Linked DNA regions of Homo sapiens: regions 1, 2, 3, 5, 6 and 7 are each linked to region 4. Evidence: promoter capture Hi-C in 16 types of primary human blood cells and fetal thymus (Javierre and others, 2016). All regions are on one chromosome and are shown on one strand. Each heading gives the region's core, a stretch centred on a gene start or on the middle of the fragment in contact. The rest is flanking DNA. Distances are from core to core; before and after follow the strand shown. Region 1 overlaps AHI1 (Abelson helper integration site 1). Region 2 overlaps AHI1-DT (AHI1 divergent transcript). Region 3 overlaps AHI1-DT (AHI1 divergent transcript). Region 4 holds the start of MTFR2 (mitochondrial fission regulator 2). Region 5 overlaps AHI1-DT (AHI1 divergent transcript). Region 6 overlaps AHI1 (Abelson helper integration site 1). Region 7 overlaps AHI1 (Abelson helper integration site 1).

Region 1 (3,211 bases), core at 491-2,990, 800 kb before region 4:
GGTGGCCTTCTTTTGATTTTCTGAATTAACCCTGCTCCTTCAAATATCAGGGTTTTTGCATATATTGTACCCTCTACCATAGACCATTTCTTCCCCACCGGTGGCAATGTGTCTCTTCCTCAGGAATGTTTTCCCTGACCCCACAGTTCATCATCCATCCTATACCTCTTTACGATATTTATAAAAATTTATAATTAAATGATAAATTGTGAAATCAATTGTTTTATGTTTGTGTTGCTGGAATATGAAGTCCAGGAGTTCAAGGAATTTGTCATCTTTGTCCACTGACAACAGTAGCTGGCACATAGAAAAGTCTTAATATTTTTTGAACTGAATAAATAATGGCATGGCTGTTTGTGTCTTTTTTAATGCTACATCCTCAGAACCAAATAGTGTAACTGGCACATACTGGGCCATCAATAAATATTTAAGAATCTGAATGAGCATAACCTGAGCTTGAATTAGTAACTCTTCATCCCTACAACATTACCTTAGATTCTAATTCCTTATATGAGACCAAACTGATTTGGGAGAAAGCAGCCAACTAAATTTGAAGACTAGTTTTAAAGTGTTTAAAATGGATGAAAAACATACCTTAAGAAATGCCCAGGCAATTTTCCGAAAGCCACATTCTTGGTTTTGAACCTCAGAATTATTCTTAATTTCATCCACGCTTAAGAAATCAAGAATCTGCAAATAAATTCACAGAAGACTAAGCTACCTAAAATTTAATATTTTCTAATGGTACATTATTAAAACTTTAAAAAATCATTTGTATAGTGCTTAAAAACATTAACCTTTACAGGGAATAAAAACATTTTTATCTCATTTCATTCACCTTAAAGTTAACTCATTCAGTTAGGGAGGGTCCATTTTCTGACTATTTTATCTTTCATTAATAAATACTATGATTTATTTCAAATCCAAAGCAAAGTGTTAATCACCTCAAATATAACCTAGGTACAAATATAATAGGCATAGAATTCTTAAGCTTTCATTGTTTTTTATGTATCACAGCAGACTTTAAAGGATTGTTTGTTTAAAAAACTCACAACCCTATTTCTGGGTCTTTGTCTTGGATCACCTTCCTGAAGTTGGGGTTTTTCTCTTTGGATGTATGTTATAATTAGGCTTCTCAAGAGGATTTCTTCCATTCCTCTATCCTGTCTGGACATTAAAGCTCATGGATTTGCAACCAACCTGCCACAGAGATCGTATTCTAGATATTTATCAAAGGCTATCACTTCAAACTTACTGGTGCTTATTAAAAGCTCAGCTGCGAAAATGAGATTTTTATAGAAAGAAGACTGCTTAAGAAATGATACAGACTCCAATCATCTGTGCTTTTTGGATACCTAAATCTTTTTTACAGATATAATACATGCTCAGTGAAAACATAATATAAAAAATATATAGATCCAAAGTAAAAACAACTTGTAATCCAGACCCATAGATGGTCACCATTAACATCTAGTTTGCAGGCCAAATCTTTTTCTGTGCATTCCTAAACATATGTGTGGAACTACAAATCTAATAATGCTATTTCACAAATTATTTTCATATAGTATGTAGTGAATATCTCTTCATGTCAATACATACACATGAATACCGTAATGTTAATGACTGCCTACTATTCTGTCACAAATACCATAAATTTAACAAAAATTATAACTTATTTAACCAAATCTCTTACTGATCTAAATGTAGGTTATTTTATCTCCCTAAAATTTTTGCTATTATAAACAGTGCTGAAATAAATATCCTTGCACACACATCTTCACGGACTTGTCATTTTTTTCCTTAAGATAAATACCTAAGAGTAAAATAATGGTTTTAAAGACTGTGAGACATTATCAAGTTGTCCTCAACACTTAAAAAACTGAGATCAAAAAGCAGTTGCATAGGCAATAACATATTACATTAAAACTTAAGAAGCAACCAAAAGCGTTTATAATACAACAATCTATCCTTCTTCATCTCTTAATACTAAAATGAATACAGAAGAAAATTGTAACAAATGACAAAGTTTGAAGACAAAAAATTCCTTAAGATACAAATTATATCAATTTTTCAACAATAACAGCTTTATGTAAATCACACACAACATAATCACAAATGTAAATATTGGAATATTTGTATCATAAATACAAATAGACAACCTGAAAGTCAAGGATCATAAAAACAAGTAATTCTACAAAATGAATCTTCGGCACTGGTTATGCCAAGTCCCCTGCTGTTCCCATGCTAAACTTCTCCATCTAGCTTACACTGGAAGGGGGCTTTCTCTATTGTCCTTTGCTTATGGAGACAGAACACATGATAGAGTAAAGAAATGTGGTATTCTAGGTTCAAACTATCTGCAAACGCATTTTTTTTAACTTAAAATTCGAGTAACTTTGGGGAAATCACTTTTATTCCAAACCTTGTTATCATTTTCAGTAAGAAAATTATATAATAACAACTAGTCAGCTCAAAAGCCATGTATTCCATAAAGCTTTCCCTGACTCCACTGACCCGCCACTAACCCTTCACATATAAGTTCTACATCATTTTTGGTTACATATTAAACTGCATTAACTGATCTGTGTACATTTATCTTTATTTATCCAGGTGGTACACATATTCTTAGGGTGCCTGACATGGTTAAATGAGTTTATGCTTTGTGAAATGGGTTTAAAATGGAGAAATGCATTCATATCGAGTGGATTCATCACTTCACTACAGTTAACAGTCACAGAGCTGTTGTAATTATTAAATTATACAAAGTAGGCCAAATGGTTAAATAGTAAACACTCAGCAAATATGCTATCACTGTTTATAAAAGGGCGTCTCACTTGATTCCACAGCATTGGAAAACTAAATCCTAGAGATTAAATTCTCACACAACTTTTTTTTTTGCCTTACTGGACTACTAAAAATAATAGCTTACATTTGTGCTATTAAATATTAACTATCGTTTAATTTGAATTGGTCCATTCAATTCATACCTCAAAGAACAGGATGACTTTAGGACTCTCATCAGAGCCTCGAAGCAAATAGGGAAAATTTTCATTAAATACAATTTGTTCTTCCCACTCTGGAAGTCTTGATTTTAACTGTTTAAAATCATATGGCTGGGTCATAATAGGAAGAATATAATCCACATTCTCTTTTTCATAGTAAGATGAAACAGGCCGTCCACTGTACAAAAAAAGATACTTCCATTAACACA
Region 2 (3,036 bases), core at 452-2,951, 730 kb before region 4:
TTTGAACTCAGGCAGTTGGATTCAGAGCCTGGATTCCTAGTCACTGCACAGTGTCAATGCCTGACAGATAGATGTTACGAACGTTAACTGTTATATTAATTGCTGTACATTTTATCAACTAGATATCCATTCCATTCTCTCCACAGCCACTCATCATGCCTTACCTGGATGATGCAGAAGTCCCTGGAAACAGAAGGTCTCACCCTTCTTTATCTTTCTCATGGCTTTCCAAGGCTCTTTATCATGTTACTTTCCTGCTCAGAATTCTTTAATGACTTGCCTCAATGACCAGATACATGTGATCTACAGTCAGCCTTCCAGCCTCATCATTCCTCTTCCATTTCCTCCCCAGAAACACTGTACTTTATGAAGCTCCTCCAAGACGTAAGTTTCTCTCATATTTAAAGGAGAGTTATGCCATATGCTCTCATAATCATGCATATTTCCTTGTCCACTTGCCAAAATCCTATTTCTCCTTCAAGTCTCCTTGTAAATACCATTTCTCCTTTGAAGGAGATTCAATTCTCGATTCCCCAGGGTAGACTAGGTATTAATACTTATGCTATGCTCTAATGGCCTTTGAACACACATGCCACAATACATTTATATATACAATGAATGCTGGTATTTTATATCCCTTTTTTATGATAAGCACCTTAAGGACACTGCTGATGGGTATCTGTCTTAGTTGTTTTGTGCTGTTGTAACAGAATATCTGAGACTGGATAATTTATAACAAACAGAAATTTATTTCTCATGGTTCTGGAGGCTGGAAAGTCCAAGGTCAAGGTGACAGCAGGTTTGGTGTCTGGTAAGGACCTGGTCTTCATTTCCAAGATGGCACCTTAAACTCTGTATCCATGCCAGAAGAGCAGAAGAGAGTGAACCCATTCTCCAAAGTCTTTTTTATAGTGGCATTAATTCATTCATGAAGGCAGAGTCCCCATGACCCAAACACCTTCCATTAGGCTCCACCTCCCAACACTGTTGCATTAGGGATTAGGTTTTAATGTGAGTTTTGGAGGGAACAAAAACATTCAAAGCATAGCACTGTCCATCTTTGTATTTTCAGTATTTGTCACAGCACTCTGCACAGAGTAGGCACTAACTAATTACTGTATACCTTAACTGACTTTCATTCTTTCTATACCACTCAGAAAACATCAAAGCCATAGAAACACAAAGCCTCCCTCCCACTAGGTTTTTATTTTAATCAGCAGTTCTCAAAATTTTAAGAAATGGGATTTCTTGGAAAAATTCAAAATATTTTGGGGAGAAACCACAACTGGGTTTGCTAATAAATGCTGATATCTAAGTACTGAGCTAATTCTAACAAAATTAAGATTTGATTAAACTGACCTAGACCAACTGTGAGACTTGGGTGGGATGGCAGAGAATAACAAGAGAGAACAGAAGAAGGTACTCTTGGGCTGACCACTGGTTCAATATTCCTAGGGTGCCCTTGCTGTCCCAGAATAATTATCATGTTCTGGGCTTTGTTCTATGAGTTATAGCTACTCCTTTTTTCCCACTTGTGTTTCTCGCATCTGAATCTCCCTCCTTTAAGCCTTATTTACCCTGTTGATAAAGCTAAACTTCTGTTTTATCTCCAATCTCTTGTAATTTATTTATTTATTTATTTTAGTAATCTCAGACCTCTTATAGAATTGAGCCCCTGTTGTGTTCTTTCTAGCCTCTTTTCTGTAAAACTACAGAAATTCTCCCAATCTTAGCTTAGTTGCCAAGTTCCTGCCTTTAATGGACACACTAACTAGAAAAAGAACTTCAAATTGCCTGCATTGATAATAGCATAGTGGACGTGTGTGTGTGTGTGTGTGTGTGTGTGTGTGTGTGTGTGTTTTCTGCCCAGCATCCCTTTCCTCTAGTTTGGTAAAAATACGTTCATTTTAATATGAAAAATAATCCCCTCACCCTCTTCCATTGCATGTGGTCTTACAGGGGATGTCAGTGAAAGAGCCCTACCCAAGGCATTGACACTTGGCCTAAGCAAGAACAATCCATTATTTCTCTGCAAACTAAATCTGAAATGGTCTTCAACAGTTAAGATGTTAGTGATGGTTAACCATCTTTAGGGAGCTGCCATCACAGTAACCATCACTAACCATCTTAACTGTTTAAGAAATGGGATTTCTTAAATATAGAACCTAGCCCAGAACATGGTAATTAACTGTTTAAGATGGTTAGTGATGGTTAGCGTGTGCTGGCAGCTCTTTAAAGAGACTATTCATTAGTCCTGAATACCAGATTATTGGGGTCGTCCTGTTTCCTGTAGTATTCTACTTAATGCTTGATTGTTTAGCTTTTTATTTAGTTCTGTGAAAGACTCCATACCTTTCCAATAAATTATTTTTTGTGCCCTTAAATTAGATAGGGTTGGTTTACATTTTAAAACCCAAATTGACAAATGTAAATTCCTTGTTGCAGTGCTCTCTCAGCAGCTGGGACCCGGTCTTGGAATCTTAGTGTCAACTATGATGAATCACCAACACTAACAAAAACATTATCTTTTATTGGGTTAAATAGTTTCTACTCTTCCCAAGACTGGGAACTGATGTAACAGGCTTCGTGCTTTCTTCCCAACAAATTGATTCTGTGTGGTCAGCTCCTGTCATGATGATAGAACCCCCTGTATTGATTTATACTTAGGGGTATATCAATGTCAGTCTAAACTTGTCCTACCTACTTCTACTGCCTGATGAATCTTTTTATTTTAATCTTTACTAAGGTAAAACTTACATATTACAAGAGTCACCAATTCTAAGTGTATAGTTCAATGATTTTTAGTACGTTTATACATTACATAACCATCACCCCAATCCAGTCTTAGATTGCATGCCCAATCTTGTTGTGTGTATTTTCCATGGCCATTGATGGATCCTAGTATCATGTACTGCACGGGCTATACCAATATCAGGCCCAAGATGTGTAGCAGTCAATCCTGGAGGTCTTGTGGTGCCCTTAAATATAATGTAAGGGGAGAGTGTCAGTGTGGTGGATTCAGGGGCAATTACTATG
Region 3 (3,081 bases), core at 10-2,509, 600 kb before region 4:
ATTTGATAACCTAGGGGAAATAGATGAATTTCTTGAAAAATAAAATCTGATAAAACTCACACAAGAAGAAATAGACAATCCAGATAGGCCTAGATCTATTAAAGGAATGGAATTAATAATTAATAACCTTCCAAAACAGAAACCATGAGACCCTGATCAGTTCACTAGTAAATTCTACCAAATACTTAAGGAACAAATTATATCAATTCTCTACAGTCTTTTCTAAAATATAGAGGCATATGGAATATTTACTAACTCATTCTATGAGGCCAGCTTCACCATAATGTCAAAATCAGACAAAAACATTATGAGAAAAGATCAATATTTCTTATGAATATAGACACAAAAGTCCTCAACAAAATATTAGCAGACTGAATCAAGCAATGTATAAAAATAATTATATTCCATGACTAAGTGGGATTTATCCCAGGTATGCAAGGTTGGCTCAAATTTGAAAATCAATTACTGCAATCCATCACATCTACAGACTAAGGAAGAAAAATGACATGGTTATATCAAGAGATGCAGAAAAAGCATTTGTCAAAATACAACACCTATTTGTAATAAAAACTCAGCTAGAATTTTAGAGGGGAACTCCCTCATCCTGATAAAGAACATCTACAAAACCCCTACAACTAACATAAGACTTAATGGCAAGAAACTAAAAGCTTTTCTACTCAGATCAGGAACAAGACAAGGATGTTCCTTCTCACCACTTCTTACATTTTACTGGAAATCCTAGCTAACACAATAAGACATGAAAAGGAAATAAAAGATATATTGATCGAGAAGAAATAAATAAAACAGTCTTTGTTCATGGATAATATGATTGTCGAGGTAAAAAATCTGAAGAAATCAACAAAACAATTCCTGGAACTGATATGTGATTATAGCAAGATTGCAGGATACAAGGTTAATGTACAAAATTTAATGTCTTTTCCATATGCCAGAAATGAAAAAGTGGAATTTGAAATTAAAGACAAAAATCCTTTCAGATTAGTGCATCCCCAAAATGAAATAGTTAAGTACACATCCAACAAAATATGTACAAGATCTATATGAAAAAAAACTACATAACTCTGATGGAAAAAAAAATCAAGGAACTAAATAAATGGAGAGAAGGCCAGGTGTGATGTCTCACATCTGTAATCCCAGCACTTTGGGAGGCTGAGGCAGGTGCATCACATGATGTCAGGAGTTCAAGGCCAACATGACCAACATGGCGAAACCCCGTCTCTACTGAAAATACAAAAATTAGCTGGGCATGGTGGTGTGCACCTGTAATCCAAGCTACTCGGGAGGCTGAGACACGAGAATAGCTTGAACCCGGGAGGTGGAGGTTGCAGTGAGTCGAGATCGCACCATTGCACTCCAGCCTGGGTGACAGAGCGAGACTCCATCAAAAAAAAAAAAAAAAGAGATAAATTAAGAGATATTTCATGTCCATGCAAGGAAGAGTCAATATTGTTAAGATGTCATTTCCTCCCACATTGATCTACAGATTCAATGAAATTCCAATTAAAATCCTGACAAGTTATTTTGCAGGTATCAACAAACAGATTCCAAAGTTTCTGTGGAGAGGCAAATAACCTGAAATAGACAACAAAATATTGAGTGAAGTTGGAGTACTGACATTATTCAACTAGGTTACAAATGAAATGGGAAAACAGTTTCATAGTTGGCTTTGTTCTATAGTTTACATTAGGGTTAACTCTAAGTGTTGTACATTCTGTGGGTTTTGGAAAATGCATAATATGCTGTTTTGGTGAAACCAAAAGCAGTAAGTGAGCAATATATGCCTTAGCAATCTATCTTTATTAATTCACATATTTAGAGCTGACTTATTCATATAAAGCTTTGCTTCTTATAAGAAATAACTGGCTTTCTCTTTAAAATAAGCTGAAGCTGTGTGAGATTGTATAAAACATTATATATTGACTAATAGGGAAAAACTTTCTTGTGTATACAGGATTTTGTAATTAAGGTTGAAAATGTAATCTTTAAACCTGAAAGGCTTAAAAAAATTTTTAGCCCCCACATGTAAAGTGAAAATGTGATGTTTGTCTTTCTGTGCCTGCTTTATTTCATTCAGCATGAGTTCCATCATGCTCATTCATGCTGCCTCAAATGACAAGATTTTATTATTTTTATGCCTAAATATTATTCAATTGTGTATATATACCACATTTTCTTTATCCATTCATCCTTTGATAGACAGTTAGGATGATTTTATATCTTGGCTATTGTGAATAGTGCTCCAATAAACATGAGAGTGCAAATATTTCTTTGACATACTGATTTCATTTCCTTTGGACACATACCCAGTAGTGGGGTTGCTTGATCATATGGTATTTCTATTTGGAGTTTTTTGAGGAAACATCACACTGTTTTTTATAATGGCTGTACTAATTTGCATTCTTATCAACAGTGTAAGAGTTCCCTTTTCTTTGCATCCCACTTGCGTTTGTTATTATTTGTCTTTTTCATATGAATAATAGCCATTTTAACTGGGGTGAGATAATATCTTATTGTGGTTTTGATAGGCATTTTCCTTATGATTAGTGATGTTGATCGTTTTTTATTATACCTGTTGGCCATTTGTATGTCTTCTTTTGAGAAATGTTCATCCAGGTCCTTTGCCCACTTTTTGATCAGGTCATTTGTTTTCTTGCTACTGAGTTGAGTTCCTTAAATATTTTAGATATCAACCCCATATCAGACATATAGTTTGATAATATTTTCTCCCATTCTATAGATTGTCTCTTTATTCTGTTGATTGTTTCCTTCTCCGTGCAGAAAATTTTTAGTTTGGTATAATCCCGTTTGTCTATTTTTGCTTCTGTTGCCTGTGCTTTTGAGGTCTTACCCAAGAAATGCTTGCCCAGACCAATGTCCTGAAGCCTTTCCCCAGTGTTTTTTCTAGTAGTTTCACAGCTTCAGGTCTTACATTTAAGTCTTTAATCCATTTTGATTTTATTTTTATATATTATGAGAGAAAGAAATCTGATTTCAAATTTCTGATTTCTTTTGCATTTAGATATCTAGTTTTACAGCACCATTTATTGATGAGACTGTTCTTTC
Region 4 (3,262 bases), core at 246-2,745:
TCTTCTGTTGGCATTTGTCCTATCAGGTAAATATGTTCTCAATAATCTTATCCCTCTTCTAACTCAAATCATCAAAGCTATACTATTACAAACTCACCTTTGTTCCAACTAAAAAGAAGCAACAACTTTGCCTTAAATCAAATGATTACATATAAGTCATTTTCAAAATGAAACCCAAGAACAAATACAACAGATCCATTCCAATCCAAAACGACATTTACCTGTTCTACAGGAACGCCAAAATATTCCAGCATCTCTCTTAAGATATTCAGTATGAGAGACATTGATGAAGCAAATACAGAAGCCAATTCAAAGGAACATTATCAGTTTCTTGGTGCCTTTGGGGAAAATTTTAGAAAATGTTACTCTTGACAAATAAATGCCAAATTGTACTACATAACCTGGAAAAGTCCTCTTGATACACGACACAGTCAACTAATTTCTCCTAGCCAGCATTCTTTTAAGTCAGAGAAAAAGAAAGGAAGGGGAAGTCTGGGGGAAAGAGAGGGTTGTAAAGGAAATTTCAATTAATTGGTTAGATTACATTAAAACCTCGTAGGATGTTTGAGCCTAGTTAATAGAGACCAATCAACAAACTGGACATCTACTTAGTAGGCAAGGCTTCAAGTTACATGCCACAGCGAAGCTCGCTCTTTCCTGAAAGCTTTGGGCTGAGACTCTTAGCAGATGGGTGAGTTTAGCCAACCCTTGAAAGCAGGCAAGGGACGACTCAGTTTTTAAAAAAATAAACAGTAGCTCTTCTCACACACATATCCTCACGTGTCAAGGGTGGGGCCAGGTGAAGATAACTGAATCATGGGGGCAGCTTCCCCCATACTATGCTCGTGGTAGTGAATAAGTCTCATGAGATGTGATGGTTTTATCAACAGGAGTTCCCCTGCACAAGCCCTCTTGCCTGCCACCATGTAAAATGTGACTTTGCTACTCATTTGCCTTCAGCAATGATTGTGAGGCCTCCCCAGCCATGTGGAATGCCCATCCCTCCTCACTCTTTTAAAATGAGAAGCATGAATTCCAGATACGGGACGTGACTTGGTCACCCATCTAGTAACAGGCCGTGACCAGAGCCGGATCGCGTCCCTCGCTTTGGTCACAAGCTTCCTGGTGCTCTCCAAACACAGCGTGGTAGCCTTGCTCACCTTCCTCCGAAGCCGAGCCCCCGGGAATCACCAGAACATCAAGCGGAGGGCGTTAGGAATCCTCAATCAAATTCCAGACTGCGCCACTCCTTGTGCAGATCGCTCAGACGTCTACCCAGACCTCGACCCAGTTTCCACCCGCGCGCCTCGGCTTGCAGCCACAGGCGGTAACGATGCCCTCAGCGAGGAATAAGAGGTCAACCCGGTGCCCAGCCCTGGAGCCTCACGCTCAGCCAGGGTAATGTTATGGGAAGCGCGCCCCCGTCCTCCTGCGCCCAACCAACCCACCTGCTAGTCCCTAGGACCGGACTGCTACTTCCGCATGACAGGACTGCTACTTCCGCATCCCAGGACGAAATCAAACTCCGCGGGCCAGGACCCGTAACCAGCCTCATTGGGCAAAACTGAAGATCGCTGCTTCTGATTGGTCATTGCATGATGTCAGGCAATTCGGGAAGCGACTGCTTTTCCTTCTCAAGAGGCGGGTCTTCCGAGAGTCAGCCAATAGGAGCTGACGGGCAGGGCAGGTCGCGTTAGGACAGCGTCGCTCCCGCAGGGCAAGGTTTTAGGTACAAACTCGTGAGCTGGACTCGCAGTCCGGAGTTCGTACCCCACAGAACTCTTCGCAGGGAGTGTCTTACTCGCTACAGCCGGACCCTAAGCGCATCCGCCTTCCCAAGTTCATCTGACACAAAATCGCGATTTATTTTTTGGTCATTTCATTTGTTCAGCTAATATTAAAATACTTGTGGAACTGGCAGAAGCCAAGCACTACCCCCGAGGGTTTTGCAGCTTTGCAGTGGCTAGGATTCATTCTTTCGTTCACTAAATACACCTACGTATCCAGGCTACCGAATATTGGGCCGGACACTCTCCTGGCTTAGCCGAGGATGGCAAGTGATATGACAGGTGATATCCCAGTTTTCATTTCTGATTTGAGGTTATTGGCTTCATACGAAATAGCTTCCTCTTCTGAATTTCAGCAAGACGTGCACTGGAGTGATATAACAATTTAAGATGTGTGCCTGCTACTGACATAATTTGAAAATCTAAGTTTTGAACTAATTTATCTATGGTCAACATCACTTATTCATTCAACCAATAATAGATATCTACTACGTAGCAGACACCATTCTAAGCACGGAAAATACCTTAATGAGAGGGCAGGTCCTCGTCCTCCTGGAGCTTACAGGCCAGCGGGGCATCTCGTTCCATTCTAACCCTAATTTGCTTTTCTCTATAGCACTTATCATATATATTTAGTTACGCTTCCACTACCACCAAACAAAATTGTAGACTCCAGGAGAACAGGAAGTTGTTTTGATCCATGCTCTATCTTTCCCCAGTGCTTTAGAAGAGTGTCTGGTATATAATAGGCATTCAGTCTATTTGTTGAATAAAATACCTAAATGTGGAATGACAGAAAAGATGATAATGATTTGGGACTAAGCAACTAGCAAAACAATTGATAGCAATAATAGTGATATGCCCAGTAGAGCTGGATACGGCTGAGTGAGCGCAGAACAAGGATGATGATGGATCAGAAACCCTAGATGGAGTAATTTTCTCAAGTTCCTTGTCCTTCCCTTTGCCCTTGTGAATAAATCACGACTTTATAACCCCCTCCCTTTCCCACTCTCTTATCAAACAGCAAACAGACAGGGCCAGAATGAAAACATCCCTCCAGAATGAGAACGGAACCACTACTCTTCCAGCTGCACTATTAACATAGGTTAATATTCCAACTGATTTAAGTAGCAAGGAGGACCCAGGTCAAATACTACATCCATAAATGCTTTGCTGACAACTTTCTTCTAAATTCTTCAGAGATATTTCTTCCAGTTTACTAAAGCATTCATAATTCCATTTTGACAAAAACATTTTATGTGATTGGACATCTTTTTCCATTGCTCATTTTTACACGAAATTAGATTTTCCTGAACTCTTAGAATGAGATAGGGTCCAAGAAAGCTTTTCTGACATCACAAAGCTAGCTTTTCTGTTGTCTCTGAGTAGTGTTCAAAAATATAGTGGCTTGCTTTCTGGAGTTTTCCTGTGTTCCCCTCCCCCAGTTTGATCCAGGTAGAAAACTTGCTATTCAC
Region 5 (3,154 bases), core at 346-2,845, 580 kb before region 4:
TGGATATAACACGAAAAACACTATCAACAAAAACAAAAACAACATGAGACTACATCAAACTAAAAAGCTCCTGTGCAGCAAAGGAAACAATCAACGGAGTGAAAAGGCAATTGATGAAATGAAAGAAATATCCATGAACCATCTATCTGATAAAGGACTAATCTCCAAAATATATAAGGAACTTCTATAATTCAATAGCAAAAAAACCACATGACCTGATTTAAAAATGAGCTAAGGTTTTGAATAGACATTTCTCCAAAGAAGATACAAATGGCCAACAAATATAAGAAAAAATGCTCAATGTTACAAATCATTTGGAAAATGCAAATAAAAACCACCATGAGATTTTACTTCACACCTGTCCAGATGGATATCATCAAAAAAAAAAAAAGGACAAAATGTACTGATGAGGATGTGGAGAAATAGGAACGCTGGCACACTGTTGGTGGAAATGCAAAATAGTGAAGCTGCTACAGAAAATACTATGAAGATTCCTCAAAAAATTAAAAATAGAACTTCCATATATATGATTCAGCTATTCCACTTCTGGATATTTATCAAAAGAGTTGAAACCAGGATCTTAAAGAGATATCAGCAGCACTATTCGCAATAGTCAAGATGCAGAAATAACCTAAATGTCCATTGACAGATGAATAGATACAGAATATGCGATATATACATTGAAATATTATCAGCCTTAAAAAGGAAGGACATTCTATAATATGCAATGACATGATGAACCTGGAGGACATCAAGCTAAGTGAAATAAGCCAGTCACAGAAAGACCAATACTGCATTATTCCACTTATATGAAGTATCCAAAATAGTCAGATTCATAGAATCAAAGAATGAAATGGTGTTTGCCAGGGAATAGCAGGAGGGGGGAATAGAGAGTTATGAATCAACAGGCATAAGGCTCCAGTCAAGCAAGATGAATGAGCTCTAGAGATTTGCTGTACAACATTGTACCTAGAGTCAACAATACTGTATTGTCTGTTTAAAATTTGTTAAGCAGTAAGTCTCATGTTAAGTGTTTTTACCACAATAAAATAAAATAGTAAAATAAAATGTACCTGAGATGAGACTTGCAGTCCTGTGTGAGGGACAGGAGTTTGCCCACAGAGGAGAGTGAAGATGGAGAGAATGTTACAGACAGGCCACAGCCTGCTTTGGGACCTAGAAGTGAGTAAACAGGCTCCCTACAGGATGTGCAGACAGCTGGGCCTGGGGAGAGAGTGCCGGGGATGCTCTGAGGGCCACTGGGAGGTGAGGCTGTAAGGCAAGTTGTGGCAGACCATCACAAGCCCTTCATAGACCTGCAAGAGACTTCCAGGTTTATGGTTTGCCTAACATGAGGGGCTACTGAAGAGTTTTGTGCAAGACATGTGATGAAGTATTTGTGACATGATAAAATGTCGTTTCAGCCATCTTAAAACCACTCAAAGTTGACGGTCTCCTCTCCTGCCTCCTGCGGCTTCCATTACCATGGCAGAGACTGTGGTGTCTGAGGTGGTGTAGCGTACTGAAGCAAGGCTGTCTTGAAGAAGAGGAGACAACTCAGTAAGTATGTTAGTCAGCATAAGCTAGGTTATGATGCAGTAACAAACAATGCTTACATTTCAGTGGCTTAGCACAACAGGAGGGTATCTCTCACTCTTTCTGGATGCCCTACAGAAGACAGCGGGAGGTGGGGTGGGTCTGTTCCACAGTGTCACTCATGGACCAGACTCTGCCATCTTTTGACTGCACTATCTCCAACACACGACCTTTTTAGTCACCACATCAGGGGAGAGACAACTGCAAGGGTTTGCAGTGGCTCCTTTATGCTTCACAATGGAAGTAACACATGCCATTTCTTTTTGTAGTCACAGCCAATTCCGTAGCTTTGCCTAACCACAGGAGGCTGGAAGACGGGGTGGGGGGGAAGCAGATGGGTGCTTGCTGAGCACTGCAGTCTCTGCCATGGTAATTTCAGGTAGCTAGATGGAAGCCACAGGAGGCAGGAGAGGAGACCATCAGCTTTGAGTGGTTTTAAGATGGCAGAAACATCAGGCCACAGAGACTGAGGCAATTTGGTGGGGGTGAGAGAGGAGTGGCATAGGGTGATTGCTGGGTACTCACTGGTGGCAGCATACTCAGTGAGCAAAACTGGCAGAGAGTAGGTGTAGGGTAGAGATAAGGCTCATCTTGACCAGCACTGCTATCTGCGAAGCCTAATTAAACATGTCCACGGCCGGTCGCGGTGGCTTCATGCCTGTAATCCCAGCACTTTAGGAGGCCAAGGCAGGCGGATCATGAGGTCAGGAGATCTAGACTATCCTGGCTAACACAGTAAAACCCCGTCTGTATTAAAATTAAAAAATTAGCCAGGCGTGGTGGCATATGCATGTAGTCCCAGCTACTTGGGAGGCTGAGGCAGGAGAATCACTTGAACCCAGGAGGCGGAGGTTGCAGTGAGCTGAGATCATGCCGCTGCACTCCAGCCTGGGCGACAGAGCGAGGCTCTGTCTCGAAAACAAAACAAACCAAAACAAAACCACAACAACAGCAACAACAAAAACCCCAAAAACATGTCCACTAGGAACTGCAAGTCAGGAGTGCAAAATAGAGTCAGGCCTAGCTATTGATATTTGGACATCATCACCCAGTTATAGGCAGAGGTTGAAAACATGTAGGTGAATGAGTCTCCCAAAGGAGAGAATGTATAATAAGATTAGGTGAGAGTTTAAAAAGTTGAATTGCTCGTGCAGTCTGGATCCAGAGTCATCGCACCCAGATGGATTCAAGAAATGGAGGGTCAGAAGGTCAGCTTCCACAAGTCTATAATTAACTGGGTTTTGATGTATGCTTGCAGAGGCTAGAGACACACTGAGAGATTTATCGAGTGCAATATTTGTTTGACATCCAAAGAAATAAGACAAGCCTTCTTATGAACTCTTGGCAGAGATTTACTTTAGATAGCGAAGAACAGCTTGACACTACAGATTATTAGACACCACAAGAGTTTATTAAATAAAATGGGTGGAAGCATTGATTCTACATCTTAAATATATCTCTTTGGTCCAGGGGTTGTCAAACTGTGTTTCTTAGGGGGGTCTCAGGGGCTGCTGCAGGATGCCAGGAGCTGGTGCAGAGCAGAGTGACTCACGTCTTC
Region 6 (2,987 bases), core at 318-2,817, 810 kb before region 4:
GCAGAGACAGAGGACTTAGAGACTGAACACTGAGGTCAATAGCAACAATTTAAGCAAAGAGTAATAGGGCTTGAATTAAAGCAAACGCAATAGAGAGGACGTGACAAAACTGTGAGCCTTTTAGGAGGGAGAATTGGCAGACTTTAGTGCTAGTTAGATGTGAAAGAAATGATGGGAAAGAAAGAAGAGATGAACACCACTCTGAGTTTTCAGCTTGGGAGATGGTGGATAAGGATGCCATTAAAATATATGTAAGAGAATTAAAAGAGGAAAACAAAATTTAAGGAGGTGGGTAAGTTTGGTTTTGGATTTGAGGTGGCAATGGGCCATTCAAATGGAAACGTGTAATAGGAAGTCAAATTCATAAAAAAGGTGTGCGCTAGAAGTCATTAGCATATCAGCAAGAGTCAAAGCTGGGAAAGGTAAGAGAAACTAGGATAAGCATATAAAACCAGGAGATGATCAGCTAAAGGATCCTGGGGATAAAACATATAGACGATCGGCAGAGGAAAATAAATCAGAGAAAGACAATGGATAGAACTGGTCAGAGTAATAAAAAGAGAAGAGAAGAGGTTGTCAATGAAAACTATGAATTCAAAATATTTCAAGACTGGTCAATAATCAATTACTACAGTGAAGGCAAGCAGAGCAGGAGTTAAACTGTCCAAATGGATTTAAAAATAGCAAGAAACTGCCAACCTCTGAAGAAAGAAGTTTATGTAGCATGGTGGGAAAGAAAGCCAGAATAACTGGGCTGAAGTAAAGACAGTATGTGTAGAATACTCCTGATGGTGTAGAAAAAGAAAAATAATGGGCTAGTCTAGAAGGCAGGAAGAACTGAAAATGATGTTTTTAAGATAAGGCAATTTGAGCATATTTCTTTTTTCTTTTTGAGGCAGAGTCTCAATCTGTCACCCAGGCTGGAGTGCAATGGCGCAATCTCGGCTCACTGCAACCTCCACCTCCCAGTTCAAGTGATTCTCTTGCCTCAGCCTCTGAAGTAGCTGGGACTACAGATGCAGACCACCACACCCGGCTTATTTTTGTATTTTTAATAGAGACAGGGTTTCGCCATGTTGGCCAGGCTGATCTCGAACTCCTGACCTCCAGTGATCTGCCCACCTCGGCTTCCCAAAGTGCTGGGATTACAGGCATAAGCCACTGCGCCCGGCCCATTTGAGCATATTTCTAAGATGAGAGGACACAATCAATAGAGAGAAAGATATTAATCAGACTAGTAGATGTAATACAAATTTTCAGGGACTGAGATGAAAAGTACAGGTCAAATAGCCTTTAAAACGTCAGTCACGTGCCTCTTTGTTAAAAGAGATGGACAGAGATTAAAAATGGACATATCTATGGATATTAGGAGGGAAATCAGAGGGAAATATACGAAGATCATGTCTGACTAAATTTCATCTAAATTGAAGATAGTCATCTAATGAAGTGGGAAGACTGTGATTTACTGTAGAGAATGTTCATGGTAAGTTTGGATCTGCTGCCAGAGGAAAAAGAAAAGGAAGCTGAGTAAAGTAAAAGGATTCCTCAGCAGAGATGACAGCTTAGGTGACATTAAGACTTACAAATCCAAAGTCACCCCTCAGCAAAGTTACATATTTTTCTCTAGTATGGCCTGGCATTGGACAGAATGGCTGTGCTAAAAGAACAGATCAGATAGTTTCTTGAGGATATTGTCAAAAAGGAGTAATAGTAGGTTCCCAGCATGACCAAGAAGGAAGTCAATTGTTACTAATTCTCATCTTTTTCATTTAAATAAAAACTAACCAATAATGGTAACATCTTGATTAGATATTTTATACAGAAAAGGAGGTTGGCAAGATCAGTAGAAGAAGTGGTCTGAACACTAAAAGTAACACGAAGTGTTAAGAGAGTAGAAGGCAGAAGTAAATGACAATGAATTCAGCATGGATCTCAACTGTTTACATGTCAGTTTCGTAGTGTGTGGAGAGAATAATGTCTTACCTAATAGCTGTAAGAATCAAATTAAGTGATGTATCTAAAAGCACCCTGAAAACTAACAGTATTTTTAGAACACATTCAAGGTAGAACAAGCAACTAAAAAAAGTATAAATGAAACTTTTAAAGTTAGCTTTTAAAATGTTTTATTGTGATACTTATTAAATTGAAAAGGGATAAATTATTTTTAAGATTGACATTCTGAAAAATGTAAATGTTTAACCAATCTATAAAACTGTTAAAATATAAGGTACATATTTGTTTCCTCTACTGTGATATACTGAGCACCACTGGATTCTACCCTCTGCAAATCCAGCCAATAGTGAAGACAGTATCCCTGCCACCAAGAGCTTATGCTCTAGGAAAAAATCTCAAGTGTTTAATAACCCCTAACCCCATCTCAAAGCATTAATCAGTTTACATAATGATCATTTAAAGATGGTGAGGACTAGAAATATTATATGCTACATAAATAAAAGACATTTAAGAAAAATGTCTTTAAAAAGTGTTACTATAATTTATGGAATCAGTCTGCATGATGCATATTTATGACAGTCCCTTCTTGGGAAAATACGACTGGAGCATAAGAGTAGTTACATCAGTTTATATTCTCTTTGCTTTCCTTGACAGCAAACAGCATGCACATAAGTACTTCTCAAGGATACTAACCTGGCAGTGCCATCAGATGATGAAGTAAGGATGTAGTGATCATCTTTTGACCAGGAAAGATCATAAATGATATTGAGGTGGCCACACAATTCTCTCATGAAACGTCCAGAAGGAATTTCATATACTAATGAAAATATTTAGAAATTAGGTTTCCAGACAGAAGATCCTTAATCCAATAATATACAAATATATAATTTAATATTATTTAGACATAAGCAGTCTATAACAAAATTATAACCAAAGACATTTGCAGCACAGAGAAAATTTCAAAATTTACTTAAGAATAGTTTTTCTTTTGCTTTACACAAAAATTCACATGCAAAATTTTCAGTTATAATTTT
Region 7 (2,983 bases), core at 95-2,594, 760 kb before region 4:
GGAACACTGATATTTCTCTAATAATGCACATATGTTTACAACTACCATCACAAATGACTGACAACTTAGGTGACCAGATTCCTCAGGCTACAATTTTTCTCTTAGTGCTCTAAATATTTCTCCATTGTCTTTTGGATTTAGTGTTTTTACAGAGAAGTCTCAAATGTACTATATGTTTTTGTGTTTAGGTGTCTGCAATATTTGACTCTTAAGATACAAACAAAAGAATTTTCTAGATATAGTTCTCATCTCATAAATTTTGCCTGGAATGCAGGATGACTCATCTCTTCAGAAATCTCAGCAAGGTTTCTTCATCATGCTCATTATTGTTTCTGCTCCACTAGTACTGTCCCGGGATACTTATTTGTGGGTCAAATATCTTTCTATGTCCTCATCATTTATTTCTTTCATTTTAGTTTTGGTCATTTCTTCCCACCTCGAATTTGTCTCCCACTTCACTGATTAGATTTTTCCGTAGTGTCAATTCCATCATTTTAGGCCTGAGATATAGTTTTAAGGAAGCAACTGAAGAACATGAACTTTAAAATTGCAGAGACTGTGGTCTTAAATCCCACTTATCCTATTTTAGACTAAATGACCTAAGGAAATCACCTAACATGTCTGTTTGTCTGTTTATAAAATTTCTCATGTGCAAAAAAAGAATCCCAATATCTATCTTGCATGATTAACATGAGATTTAGAAATAATATTTGTAAAACTCTTATTATTGTGCCTTATATATAACTGGAATATAAGATGAACCTGCCATTATTATGAATCCCTATTTTGACTTTTTTCCTCGCTTAATTTTATTTCAGACTGCTCCATTTCTCATCTCAGCCTGTTCTGTACATAGGACTCCCTGTTCTTCTTTCAAGAAGAAGTCCTATCTTTTCAAATTTCATTAAAATAGATAATATTGGGTTGTGGTTAAGGCAGTGGATTCTGCACTTCCACTCAGTGTTTGAATCCTGGTTCTACCATTTACTATGTAACTTTCAGCAAGTTACTTAACTTCTGATGTAGTTTTCTCCTGTACAGAAATAAAACCCTGTAATTTCGTCGTTTGTATTAAACGACTAAATATATATAAAGTGTTTAGAAGAGTGCCTAAAGATAGAAAGCATTAAGGCATCTAGCAAATGAAAGCAGCTATTCCTCTTTTACTTCCTCAAGTTAATCATGTCAAAAATATTTTGTTCTCCTCTAAGTCCTTTAGAAATATTCCTGTTCTTTTGAGCTGCGAAATATCTTCCCAAATATTTGTTCCTAGTGTACTTATTTCTGAAAGAAAAGAAGCCTATTCAGTCCTGGTGTTTGCAAAGAGAGGCTGGATAAATTATGCTTAGTCACCTCACACTTATGTGCCCCTCAACATTTAAACTGGACCTTAGGTAAATGGACATAGCCTCTGCCTATTCTGATTATCCATTTAATTTAAACCTTGGTCTAAATTGCATTTTGTTCATGGCTCACAACTCCCAGTTCTTTAATACTAAGAGACAATATGAGGTTCTTCTCTGAGCATAAAACATCTCTGCAGACAACTGTTTCCAGGGTTCTTTTTGCTTTTGCCCAACATAAACCACTCCATCTGAGGGGAGCGCATATATCAATAAGCAATGTTTCATCCTCCATGTCACTATTCCCTACCATATTGTGCACTAGTACCACCAGAAAAAGCACATGCTATTTCAGAGCAGCAATCACTATGGGAGTGCTAATCTGTCCATTCTGTCAGTAGTTCGAAATTTTTGTGCAGTCGTACACCAGTGTATACACTATGAACCCTCACATATGTGCAGCTGGATTTTGGTCAATTTTACTACTTGTTTTTGCCTCACTTCAGAATTTATATTGTTACATTGACATCTGCCAGACAGAATACTAAAATGAACAGGTCTTAAGAAAAAATGGGGTAAATCTTACTACAAGCAAAATGTAGGATTATAACTCATTATAAAACTCCTGCCAAAAAAAAAAAAAAAACTATGTACCATTTACACAAGAGCCTGTTTATTTTTTTCTGTGAGGACAGAAGAGATAATGGTCAAAGTAGTAAAAAGTGCAACTCAAGTAGGGAGATAGGTATAAAGAGGGCATAGAGCATTAACTGTGGATGCCAATACAGACTCTTTATGATTCCAAGGGGATCAGGTTGTAGTTAGTTGCTGATTTGCTTAGTCTTTGAGCACTGTATTTTTAATTCCTTCAAGTGTGCTGCCAAAGATTCTATCATTTGAAAGTGTGCCTCAAACATAAAAGGATAATTATTACCATACGGCCATTGATTTCTCCTGGTTCTGTTGGGTAGAATCACACAGAAATAGTTTAAATAAGCACAAGCTATTCAATATCTGAAGTTAAGATACTACTTCCTAAGTTCTTCACAATTCTGGGTTAAAAATATTTTCTTCAAAAATGTTATCATGGCTAGTTTTGAGTTTCCCCACTATCTCTGGTCATTTTCCCCACTGTGTGTGTGTTCTTCCTGTAGGACAGCACTCAAGAATGAAGTCAATATTCTCACAGTGATGTTGATTCTAATATAAACTTTATTTTTACCACATGTTATTGACCATGACATAGTGTTACTGTTTTTAATTTTCAAAATTCCTTAGAATTTTAACATAAAATGCAGCCATATCTGCATTTTATGCGCATATGTAAATCACTATTACCCAATGATCATTTACTTACTGAGATGTTTTCTTCAGACCTGACAAGTTTTTTCTTCAGTTTTTTCTTTTCACGCATTAGATCACTGTGGGTCTTAAGCAATTCTTCAAAGCGAACTTTGGTTTTTACTTTTGCTTCACTCTCAGCTACAAAAGATACAGCCATGTGATTTTGTAAATGACTCTATCATAACACACAACCTACACTACTAGGATGTTAAGAAATAAGTTCTTGTAAATATCGGCATGAGTTCTCTAGCTACATTAGAAAAACTCACCTATCTTTCCTTCTTAAAATATTTTTT

What was found. The method cuts DNA at HindIII sites, captures the fragments that hold promoters and counts their contacts. A CHiCAGO score of 5 or more calls a contact.
Region 1: a fragment that was not itself captured here is called in contact with the fragment with the promoter of MTFR2 in region 4 in 11 of 17 cell types (erythroblasts, fetal thymus, M0 macrophages and 8 more); the score reaches 8.8 in erythroblasts.
Region 2: a fragment that was not itself captured here is called in contact with the fragment with the promoter of MTFR2 in region 4 in 2 of 17 cell types (endothelial precursors and fetal thymus); the score reaches 6.1 in endothelial precursors.
Region 3: a fragment that was not itself captured here is called in contact with the fragment with the promoter of MTFR2 in region 4 in 1 of 17 cell types (naive B cells); the score reaches 5.6 in naive B cells.
Region 5: a contact is called between a fragment that was not itself captured here and the fragment with the promoter of MTFR2 in region 4, in 2 of 17 cell types (naive B cells and total B cells). The highest score is 5.2, in naive B cells.
Region 6: a fragment that was not itself captured here is called in contact with the fragment with the promoter of MTFR2 in region 4 in 1 of 17 cell types (monocytes); the score reaches 5.1 in monocytes.
Region 7: a fragment that was not itself captured here is called in contact with the fragment with the promoter of MTFR2 in region 4 in 4 of 17 cell types (fetal thymus, naive CD8 T cells, total CD4 T cells and 1 more); the score reaches 7.9 in fetal thymus.

Annotation. Positions count from the first base shown.
Region 1 is chr6:135,452,747-135,455,957 of GRCh38, forward strand. AHI1 (Abelson helper integration site 1) reads right to left here. Exons shown (of 29, transcript NM_001134831.2): 10 at 2,988-3,180; 11 at 595-690. Among named protein-coding and RNA genes, the nearest start is that of AHI1, 43 kb to the right of the region's middle. The HindIII fragment of the contact is 1,503 bases long and covers 990-2,492 here.
Region 2 is chr6:135,518,447-135,521,482 of GRCh38, forward strand. All of the region lies in intron 2 of AHI1-DT (AHI1 divergent transcript), which reads left to right. Among named protein-coding and RNA genes, the nearest start is that of AHI1-DT, 22 kb to the left of the region's middle. The HindIII fragment of the contact is 4,527 bases long and covers 1-3,036 here.
Region 3 is chr6:135,653,496-135,656,576 of GRCh38, forward strand. The region is part of intron 3 of AHI1-DT (AHI1 divergent transcript); the gene reads left to right. Among named protein-coding and RNA genes, the nearest start is that of LINC02524, 20 kb to the left of the region's middle. The HindIII fragment of the contact is 1,187 bases long and covers 667-1,853 here.
Region 4 is chr6:136,248,816-136,252,077 of GRCh38, forward strand. MTFR2 (mitochondrial fission regulator 2) reads right to left here and starts at 1,496. Exons shown (of 8, transcript NM_001099286.3): 1 at 1,161-1,496; 2 at 222-338. The coding sequence starts at 284. RefSeq lists enhancers at 946-1,165, 1,816-1,965. The HindIII fragment of the contact is 2,013 bases long and covers 1,117-3,129 here.
Region 5 is chr6:135,670,870-135,674,023 of GRCh38, forward strand. It overlaps AHI1-DT (AHI1 divergent transcript), which reads left to right. Exons shown (of 6, transcript NR_152842.1): 4 at 1,425-1,560. Among named protein-coding and RNA genes, the nearest start is that of LINC02524, 38 kb to the left of the region's middle. The HindIII fragment of the contact is 4,785 bases long and covers 1-3,154 here.
Region 6 is chr6:135,435,729-135,438,715 of GRCh38, forward strand. AHI1 (Abelson helper integration site 1) reads right to left here. Exons shown (of 29, transcript NM_001134831.2): 15 at 2,647-2,770. Among named protein-coding and RNA genes, the nearest start is that of AHI1, 61 kb to the right of the region's middle. RefSeq lists a silencer at 699-899. The HindIII fragment of the contact is 5,381 bases long and covers 1-2,987 here.
Region 7 is chr6:135,487,923-135,490,905 of GRCh38, forward strand. It overlaps AHI1 (Abelson helper integration site 1), which reads right to left. Exons shown (of 29, transcript NM_001134831.2): 5 at 2,701-2,825. Among named protein-coding and RNA genes, the nearest start is that of AHI1, 8.3 kb to the right of the region's middle. The HindIII fragment of the contact is 4,311 bases long and covers 1-2,983 here.